2 separate regions of the Homo sapiens genome follow, and region 2 is linked to region 1. The links are contacts of gene promoters, found by promoter capture Hi-C in blood cells and fetal thymus (Javierre and others, 2016). All regions are on one chromosome and are shown on one strand. The core of a region is centred on a gene start or on the middle of the fragment in contact, and the rest is flanking DNA. Distances in the headings are between cores, read along the strand shown. Region 1 holds the start of WRNIP1 (WRN helicase interacting protein 1). Region 2 has its middle 2.4 kb from the start of RIPK1.

What was found. Contacts are between HindIII fragments. The CHiCAGO score rates a contact against its expected background, and 5 or more counts as called.
Region 2: a fragment that was not itself captured here is called in contact with the fragment with the promoter of WRNIP1 in region 1 in 2 of 17 cell types (megakaryocytes and naive CD4 T cells); the score reaches 7.4 in megakaryocytes.

What each region holds. Positions count from the first base shown.
Region 1 is chr6:2,763,366-2,767,629 of GRCh38, reverse strand. WRNIP1 (WRN helicase interacting protein 1) reads right to left here and starts at 2,237. Exons shown (of 7, transcript NM_020135.3): 1 at 1,186-2,237. The coding sequence starts at 2,007. It also overlaps a transcript of MYLK4 not described here. RefSeq lists silencers at 1,317-1,636, 1,807-2,266, 2,427-2,476, 2,857-2,946 and enhancers at 2,401-2,695, 2,793-3,672. The HindIII fragment of the contact is 13,290 bases long and covers 1-4,264 here.
Region 2 is chr6:3,063,989-3,068,252 of GRCh38, reverse strand. It overlaps a transcript of RIPK1 not described here. Among named protein-coding and RNA genes, the nearest start is that of RIPK1, 2.4 kb to the left of the region's middle. RefSeq lists silencers at 3,944-4,053, 4,244-4,264. The HindIII fragment of the contact is 752 bases long and covers 1,015-1,766 here.

The sequences.
Region 1 (4,264 bases), core at 988-3,487:
GGGGTTAACAACTAAATCCATGGGGACAGACGTCAACAACTCGACCACCATCATCATAAGATGTTATTTGGGATAGATGTGGTTTATTCCTGGCCAAAGGGAAGGCATGAGTGCAAACAAGAAGGCACAAAAAGGGCAATTCATTCCAGGAACTGGAGTTAAAGGGGGTGTGCTTAAGTTGTGGGAGATAAAGCTAGAAAGAAAAATAGGAGAAAAATCATAAAAGCCTTGTGTGCAAACGAGTCTGAATCTCAAAGCTACAAGAACTCTTTACAGTTTGATCCCTGAATTCTCCCTTTCCCTTCCTGATGCTGGTTCTTCTCCCTTATTATGGATAAAAGCATCCTGTATTTAAGCACTTCTTAGCTTTCTCTGTTTTCTGGCTCACCTCCTCCATTTTTTTCTCAAGTGTTTTTCCAATGACATGCTTTCTAGACTCACAATATCCTAACTGCCCTCATCTGGAACGCTAACGCCTCACGAAGGGACACAGAACTGGACACCAAAATGCACGGATGTTTCTTCTCTAGAGTACAAGGCATTATGAGAAAAGTTACGGAAATACCGGATGAAAATGACTTGCAGATGAAAAAGTTTTTATGTTAGTTTTGTAAATACATGAGTATATTTAGTAAAATCAATATATTCTCAAGAATATAAGAATGTTAAATAAACTTATTCTTAAGAATAAATACCAGTCTGTTAAACCAACAACTAGTGGAAAAGGAAGGAAGCACAACAGAATTAATTTGATTTTTTTCAAAGCTGAATCCGTTATTATGTACAAACGGAATATACAAATGTTTCTTTACAATTTAAACATGCTGATTCCTTGCGAATTCGGTTACTAAATCAAAGTCTGGGGAGGGGGCGGGGAGACCGATGGAAGATAAAGGCAGATCAAATCTAAGAGTCCACATCTTGTAAAACTATGGATTCACAGACATCGTCCTTTTGCAAACCCGGCAAGCCTGCCTTACCAATCTGGGGGTGTGTGCCCTTTTCACACCCATCACAGACTCCACCTGTGGACCAGGCACTGCCCCAGCCCAGCCCAAGTCTGCACCCCCTTATCCAGGAGAGGCAGGCGGCTTCTTTCGAGGGCAGCACACCCGGCTCTCCGACCATCAGCTGCATCCACCGCCGAGATAACTACGGAAGCCCAACGGCCAAGGCCGCACTCACCTTGCCGCAGCCCGGCGGCCCCCACAGGATAAGCGAGGGGATTTCGTTGGTCTCCAGGAGCGAGCGCAGCAGGGTATCCTGGCCCACGGCCTTGCTCTGCCCGAAGTAATCCTGCAGCGTGTCAGGACGCATCGTGTCGGCCAGCGGCTTGCCCTGTAGCATCTGTCGGATCTCCTCGGCAGCCAGCGCCCGGGGGTGCGGGCGGCCCCCGCCACTGGCCCCGAAGGCGGTGGCGGCTTCGGCAGCGTCCGCGTCCCAGTGCCCCGGGTCGTCCTCGCCGTCCGCGTCCGCGTCCCCGTCGCCATCGCCGTCGCCCACGGCCTCCTCCTCCTCCTGCGCCTCCGCCTCGTCCCAGCTGCGCGGAGACGCGCTCCCCGCCGCGGCGGCGGCCGCCGGCCTCTTCCCCGACCCCTTCCTCCCGGGGCTGCTGGAGCGGGCCACCGGGAAGTCGGGGATAAGGCGGGCGCCGCTGGGTGTGGGCGGCGCGTCGTAGCTCTCGCGGCTCTCGGTCTCGCCGCCGTCGTCGCCCTCCTCACCCTCGCCCTCGCTGCTCTCGGCTGCCGTCGGGGTGGCTGGCTGCTTCAGCGCCGAGCTCTCCGACAGCCGCCGCCTCTTGGCGCCGGGCGGCGAGGGCCCCTTGGCCCGCTCCCCGGCGCGGTGCGACCCGGCCGCGGGCTCCGCGTGCCCCGCCGGGTGGAGCAGCAGACAGCGGTCCAGGTGCGAGTTGATGTGCGCGGCGGGCATCATCTGCTGGCACACGGGGCACTGCACCTGGTGCAGCTGCGAAAGGAAGGGGTCGTCTTCCGGCCCGCTCACCTCCATGGCGGCCGCCGCCCTCCCCGGCGCCCGGCGCGGCCGCAGCAACCCGTGCGCACGCGGAGGCCTTCGATGCCCTCCGCTAGGCCCCGCGCCGCGAGACCCTCGCTCGGGGAACCAGCAGGACGCTCGCGGGCCGGAGGAGGGCGCCGCTCATGCCTCACGTCCGCAGCTCCCGCGTCCGCCCGCCCTCGGCCGGCCGCTGGCAGCGCCTCACGCGGCGTGTCGGGAAGTGTAGTTCGTGGCCGTTTGCCCCGGCGGCGGAGGCGCCTCGCGCGGCATGTAAGTAAGTGTAGTCCGTGGCCGTTTGCCCCAATCACCGCCGAGAATACCTCGCGCGGCACTTCGGGAAGTGTAGTCCGCGGCCATTCGCCCCAGCTGCCGTGCGTCCATTTCCGACTCTGAGAACAGCCTTTGCGGGGGCGGGGGAGGGGCGGGGGGGGGGGTTGCGAGGCGAGCGTGGTGCGCGTGCGCGAGGTTGCGCGGTGGCGGACGCAGCCCTCCGCCCAGGCCTGCGAGTCGCGCGAGGGCAGGGAGGAGCCACGGACTGCGCGAGGTTGTTGGAGCGGCGAGCGCCGCTTTCCCGGCCTTCCGTGCTGGGCTGTTGAATGGGCCTGTGGGGACAAGCAGGAGGCGGCCGCAGCGGGTCGTTTGTAACGAAAGGGAAATGGGGGAAAAAACCCAAAAGCCTCCAATAGAAAACCAGTGTTCTATTGGACGTGAACAGCAGAAAAAATACAAACAAGTACGCGAGTGAAAGAAATGCTCACCTCAGTAGTGGTCAGGGAAATGAAAATAAAGCGTCCCTCGCCCCCTTTTAGATGTGTTGGCGTTTAAGTCAAGGGCGGTTCACCTACAGCGCGCTTCGAGCCAAGAGATGCTTCTCGCGGGCCGCTGTGTAATAGTGGCAAATCGGAAACACCAGCCTTCTGTCTCCTTAGCAACCAAATGATGGGAGGCGCCCGTGTGCAATTACGTCCTAGACGGATAGAAATGGAAAGAATATCAGATTAAAACAAGTGTGGTAGTCTGCATCTTTGAATGAATTACCATGTTATTTTTTGCTTTTGTCTAAGTCTCCCGTTTTAAAACATGTATCTCAAAACAGGCATTTTTGGTAACTAGAAGAGGTAAATGAATTGAGGGAGAATGAAGACTTTTCCGAAATTTGGCCAAAACTTGAATTTTTATTTCATCTGGGCAAGAGCACATTGAGGGTCTCACTCGTTCTGTCGCCCAGGCTGGAGTGCAGGGCCGCGACCAGAGCTCACAGCCTTGAACTCCTGGGCGCCCGGGACCCTTCCGCCTTAGCCTTTGGAGTCGTCCTGGGGTTACAGGCTGAGCCACCACGCCTGGCTGGCTGGTTAAGAGTTGTTTCTAACTAAAAAAGTTAGGCTCAAAAATAAGATTAATAGAAACGCTAGAGAAACAAGTTAAACTTTAATCATCATGTAACGTGAAACTACCAAAAGAGGATCGTGAGCTTTCATTATTTTTTTGAGACGCAGTTTCACTCTTGTCCAGGCTGGAGTGCAATGGCGCAATCTCAGCTCACGGCAACCTCCGCCTCCCGGGTTCCAGTGATTCTGCTGTCTCAGCCTCTCGAGTAGCTGGAATTACGGGCGTCCGCCACCACACCCAGGTAATTTTTTTGGATTTTTAGTACAGACGGGGTTTCTTCCTCGAACTCCCGACCTCAGGTGATCCGCCCACCTCGGTCTCCCAAAGTGCTGGGATTACAGGCATGAGCCACTGCGCCCGACCGTGAGCTTTTTTTTTTCATTTGTCCCTCAGCAGTGAGAGGTGACAGCATTCTGGCAGCCCTCTCAGTCCTCGCTCGCTCTCAGCGCCTCCTCTGCCTTGGCGTCCACTCCGGCCGTGGTTGCGAAACCCTTCAGCCTGCCGCTGTACTATGGGAGCTCTTTCCTGGGCGGGCCAAGGCCGGAGCTGGCTCCCTCAGCTTGTGGGGAAGTATGGTGGGAGAGGCGCGGGCGGGAACCGGGGCTGCGCGCGGTGCTTGCGGGCCAGCGCGAGTTCCGGGTGGGAGTAGGCTCAGATAAGCCTCGCGCTCGGAGCGGCCTGCACCACCGGCCCAGGACGGTGAGGAGCTTAGCACTTGGGACAGCACTTCTCGCCAGGCCGTAGTTGCCTCCACGCAGCGCAAGGCTCAGGCCTGCCATGCCTGAGCCTCCCCCCAACTGGGGACTCCTGCGCGGCCCAAGCCTCCCTGAGAAGCGCTGCTTACTGCCTCACGGCACCCAGG
Region 2 (4,264 bases), core at 141-2,640, 300 kb before region 1:
GGGGCGCTATCCGGAGGATTCAGAGCTCTGCGGGTTAGCATAGGCAAGTTAGCATTCCTCTACCTTCATCTGTAAAGTGGGGCTGTTGAGGAGGAAATGTGATTATTTTGCAGCCCTTTAAAATGGTAATTGTGAAGTCTCGAGCAAAGTTGGAACTGCATGCTATTCATGTATATTAAAAATCAAATAATAAAATTATATGCACATCAGGCCGGGCGCGGTTGTTCACGCCTGTAATCCCAGCACTTTGGGAAGCCAAGGCGGGCGGATCACTTGAGGTCAGCAGTTCGAGACCAGCCTGGCCAACATGGTGAAACCCCATCTCTACTAAAAAATACAAAAATCAACTGGGCGTGGTGGCGGGCACCAGCAATCCCAGCTACTCGGGAGGCTGAGGCAGGAGAATCCCTTGAACCTGGGAGGTGGAGATTGTAGTGAGCCGAGATCGCGCCACTGCACTCCAGCCTGGGTGACAAGAGCAAGATTCCGTCTCAAAAGGAAAAAAAAAAAAAGCACAACAGGATTACATACTGTGAAAAGATATGTATGTCAAGAGAACTAGCCACGTTCACAACACGAGCCACAGACTGGGAGAAAATATTTGCAAAAGACATATCTGATAAAGCACTGTGACCCAAAATATACCAAAAAAAACCCTCTTAAAATGCAACAATATGAAAATGTACAACTTGATTAAAGGCGGGCAAAAGCTCTGAACATACACCTCACCATATGTATATGCATATGAAAAGATGCTCAACATCATGTCATTAAAGAATTGCAATTTAAAAAAACAAATACTATTACACATTTATTAGAATGGCTAAAATTCAGAACACTGACAACAACAAATGTTGATGAGGATCTGGAGCACAAGGAACTCCCATACATTCCTAGTGGGAATGCCTAATGTTAGAGTCTGGAAGACATTTTGGCAATTTCTTAACCAAGCTCTTCTTACCATAAGATGAAGCAACTCCACACCTTGGTATTTACCCAAACGAGTTGAAAGCTTATGCCCATACAAACACCTGTACAAGAATGTCTATAGCAGCTTTATTCATAATTGCCAAAACTTGAGGGCATCCAAGATATCACTTAATGGGTGGACAGATAAGCTGTGGTACATCTATACAATGGAATATTAAGTGCTAAAAAGAAATGAGCTCTGAAGCCACAAAAAAAAAAAAAAAAAAAAAAATCCTGGAGCAATCCTAAATGTATAAATCTAAGTGAAAGAAGCCAATCTGAGAAGACTACATAATGCATGATTCCAACTATGTGACATTCTGGAAAAGGAAAAACTACGGAGATAGTAAAAAAGATCAGCGGCTGCCAGGGATTTGCAGGGAAGGAGGGATGGATAGGTGAGGCACAAGGGATTTTTAGGGCAGTGGAGTCTGACGTTACAGGGTTGGGTACATCTCTATACATTTGTCAAATGTATCTTGAATATACACAAAGAGCAAAACCTAACAAACTCCGGACTTTGGCTGATAATGTATATGTTTTATCCATATTGGTTCATTTTTGTAACCATGAATCTATGTTGGTTTATCAGGTGTGACAAATATTCCACAGTAATGCAGGATGTTGATGGTAGGGGAGGCTGTACAGTCCAGGATGTTTGTGGAAGGGGATATTTTCTTTCTGCTTAGTTTTGCTGTAAACCAAAACAGCTCTAAAACAAAGTCTATTCATTATTTTTTAAAAGATGTACACATATCAAAAAAGACGAAAGGCAGAGCTATTCACTCAGCAAAGCTTTCTATCTACTGTATGCCAAGCAGGTACTAGATACAAGAGCATCTGGTGATAGATACAAGAAATACAAAAAGGAATTCATTCCTTCAGTAAATATTTACTGAGCACCTGTTCTAGGCACTGAAGACTCGGTTGTGAATTAAACACAAAAAATCTCTATGTTCTGGCCGTGTGTAGTGGCTCACACCTGTAATCCTAGCACTTTGGGAGGCCAAGTCGGGCGGATTGCCTGAGCTCAGGGGTTCCGGACCAGCCTGGCAAACATGATGAAACCTCGTCTCTACTAAAAATACAAAAATTAGCTGGGCGTGGTGGTGCATGCCTGTAGACCCAGCTACTCAGGAGGCTGAGGCGGGAGAATTGCTTGAACCCAGAAGGCGGAGGTTGCAGTGAGCCAAGATTGCTCCAGCCTGGGTGACAGAGCCAGACTCCGTCTCAAAAAACAATAAAAAATAAAAAACTCCACGTTCCATTCGTGGAGCTTGCATTCTAATGGGGAAGACAAAAAGTTATTGCCCATCACTGTCCTCTAGACATCATGTGACCTTGGGAGGTTGGAAATGCGTTGTTTTTGCTTCATTTTGTGTTCAGTGTTTTAACTCAGAAACATCTATTTGGGAGCTTTACTCATTACTCCCAGCAAAAGCCATGAGTGTAGACTGTGCATGAGATGAAGGAACTGGTCCTTGCAGAACACCAGAATGGAAAAGGCAAGAAACAGCCCAAGGTGAGGAAAGAAAACCAGCGAGAACAAAGAGCTGGTACTATCTCTGAAGCCCGTGGAGGCCAAAGTGTGAATATGAGGGGGTAGGTCTCTTGGCCACAGGCCTGAAACCAAATGAACCCCCACCCCCAGGCTGCAGTTCCCAGTGCACTTGGAAATGAGACCCTGACTCCTCCAGGTGAGCCTGGGAGACCTCCCTGACTCCTTTCCATCTCCCCCTCCTCCCCCACACCCATCTCCAAGGCCTGCCCTCTACGCCCACATTTCTTCCCACTTTGGATCCTGTGCCTGGTCTAATGCCCAGGCCCCCTCCCGAGCCTCTGGTCTCCCTAGAGCCACTCCCCACTGTCGGGACACCTCATCTGTGCTCCCCAAAACGCCACGCAAAGCACTGGAGAGCCTTGGACAATGAACACAACCCGCACCCCCAGCCACCCCCGCCACAGCCGCACGGCACCTCAGAAAGCCGTGTCTTTTTTTTTTTTTTTTTTTTTTTTTTTGAGACGGAGTCTGGCTCTGTCGCCCAGGCTGGAGTGCTGGAGTGCAGTGGCGCGATCTCAGCTCACTGCAAGCTCCGCCTCCCGGGTTCACGCCATTCTCCTGCCTCAGCCTCCCGAGTAGCTGGGACTACAGGCGCCCGCCACCACGCCCGGCTATTTTTTTGTATTCTTTTTTTTCTTTTTTTTAGTAGAGACGGGGTTTCACAGTGTTAGCCAGGATGGTCTCCATCTCCTGACCTCGTGATCCGCCCGCCTCGGCCTCCCAGAGTGCTGGGATTACAGGCGTGAGCCACCGCACCCGACCAGAAAGCGGTGTCTTAATCCTCTTGTCCTTCCTCCTAAATCTCCTGGGGCCCTTAGGATCCGCTTAAAGCCACCTCGTTAAAACGGTTTCTTCTCCACCTGCCCCTCCCTTGATCCAGCCTCACTGAGGTCACAGCCTCCACCTCTGGCCATCCTGAACCCCTCCCAAAGTCACCTCTTCGCAAACTCCTGGTCCCCCTTAGAAGGCCCCACGTCCATCACGGGATTAATTCCACTCACCCTCAAACACCGCGGCCCGGAGGCTCTGATTCCCACCCTAGAGGAGGTTCTCTTGACCCCGCCGGCGCGACCCTCCCCAGCACGACCCTTCCTCCCGAAAGTGATTCCTCATCTTGCTGGCGGGTCCCACAGACCGCAGGCTCTGCAGGCGAGCGCTGAGCCTGGCTCTGCAGATTCTCAGTCCCTGGAGGAGTGCTCCGGGGAAGGAAGGGCCCCATCCGTTTCGCTGAGTTACTGAAAGAATTAGAATGGGTAAGAGTGCTCGGATTTAGAACTGGAGACTAGTGACTTTGAAAGACAGAAGAAGAACCAGGACAGACGTCATCCTGCGGATCCCAGAGCAGAGAGGAGCAGTGAGAACACAGGGCCGGCAGGTGGGGAGGAGGCTGCAGGGGAGGGCTTCGGCCAGGGAAGGGCAGCGAGGAGGCGCCGGGGAGGGCGGCGTCCGCGCTGGCTGGGAGCTGCGGAGGCGGAAACCGGCTGCGCGCTGCAGGGGACCCCCCACAGACCGTTGCTGACCCCGCCGAGACACCACCGCCTCCCCGGGGCTCTTGGCTGAGCGACCTCTCCTGTCTTCAGGTCCCATCTTTCGGTGGCAGCCGGTGGACCTGAAGCTCGCCACTCCCGTGCTCCACCCCGGCCGTGCGCGGGGACGTCCTCACCTGCCACCTAGTCTCCGTGTCGCGCTCCGAGCCTGGACGCCGACTCCCGAGGCGCAGGACCGGGCCCTGCT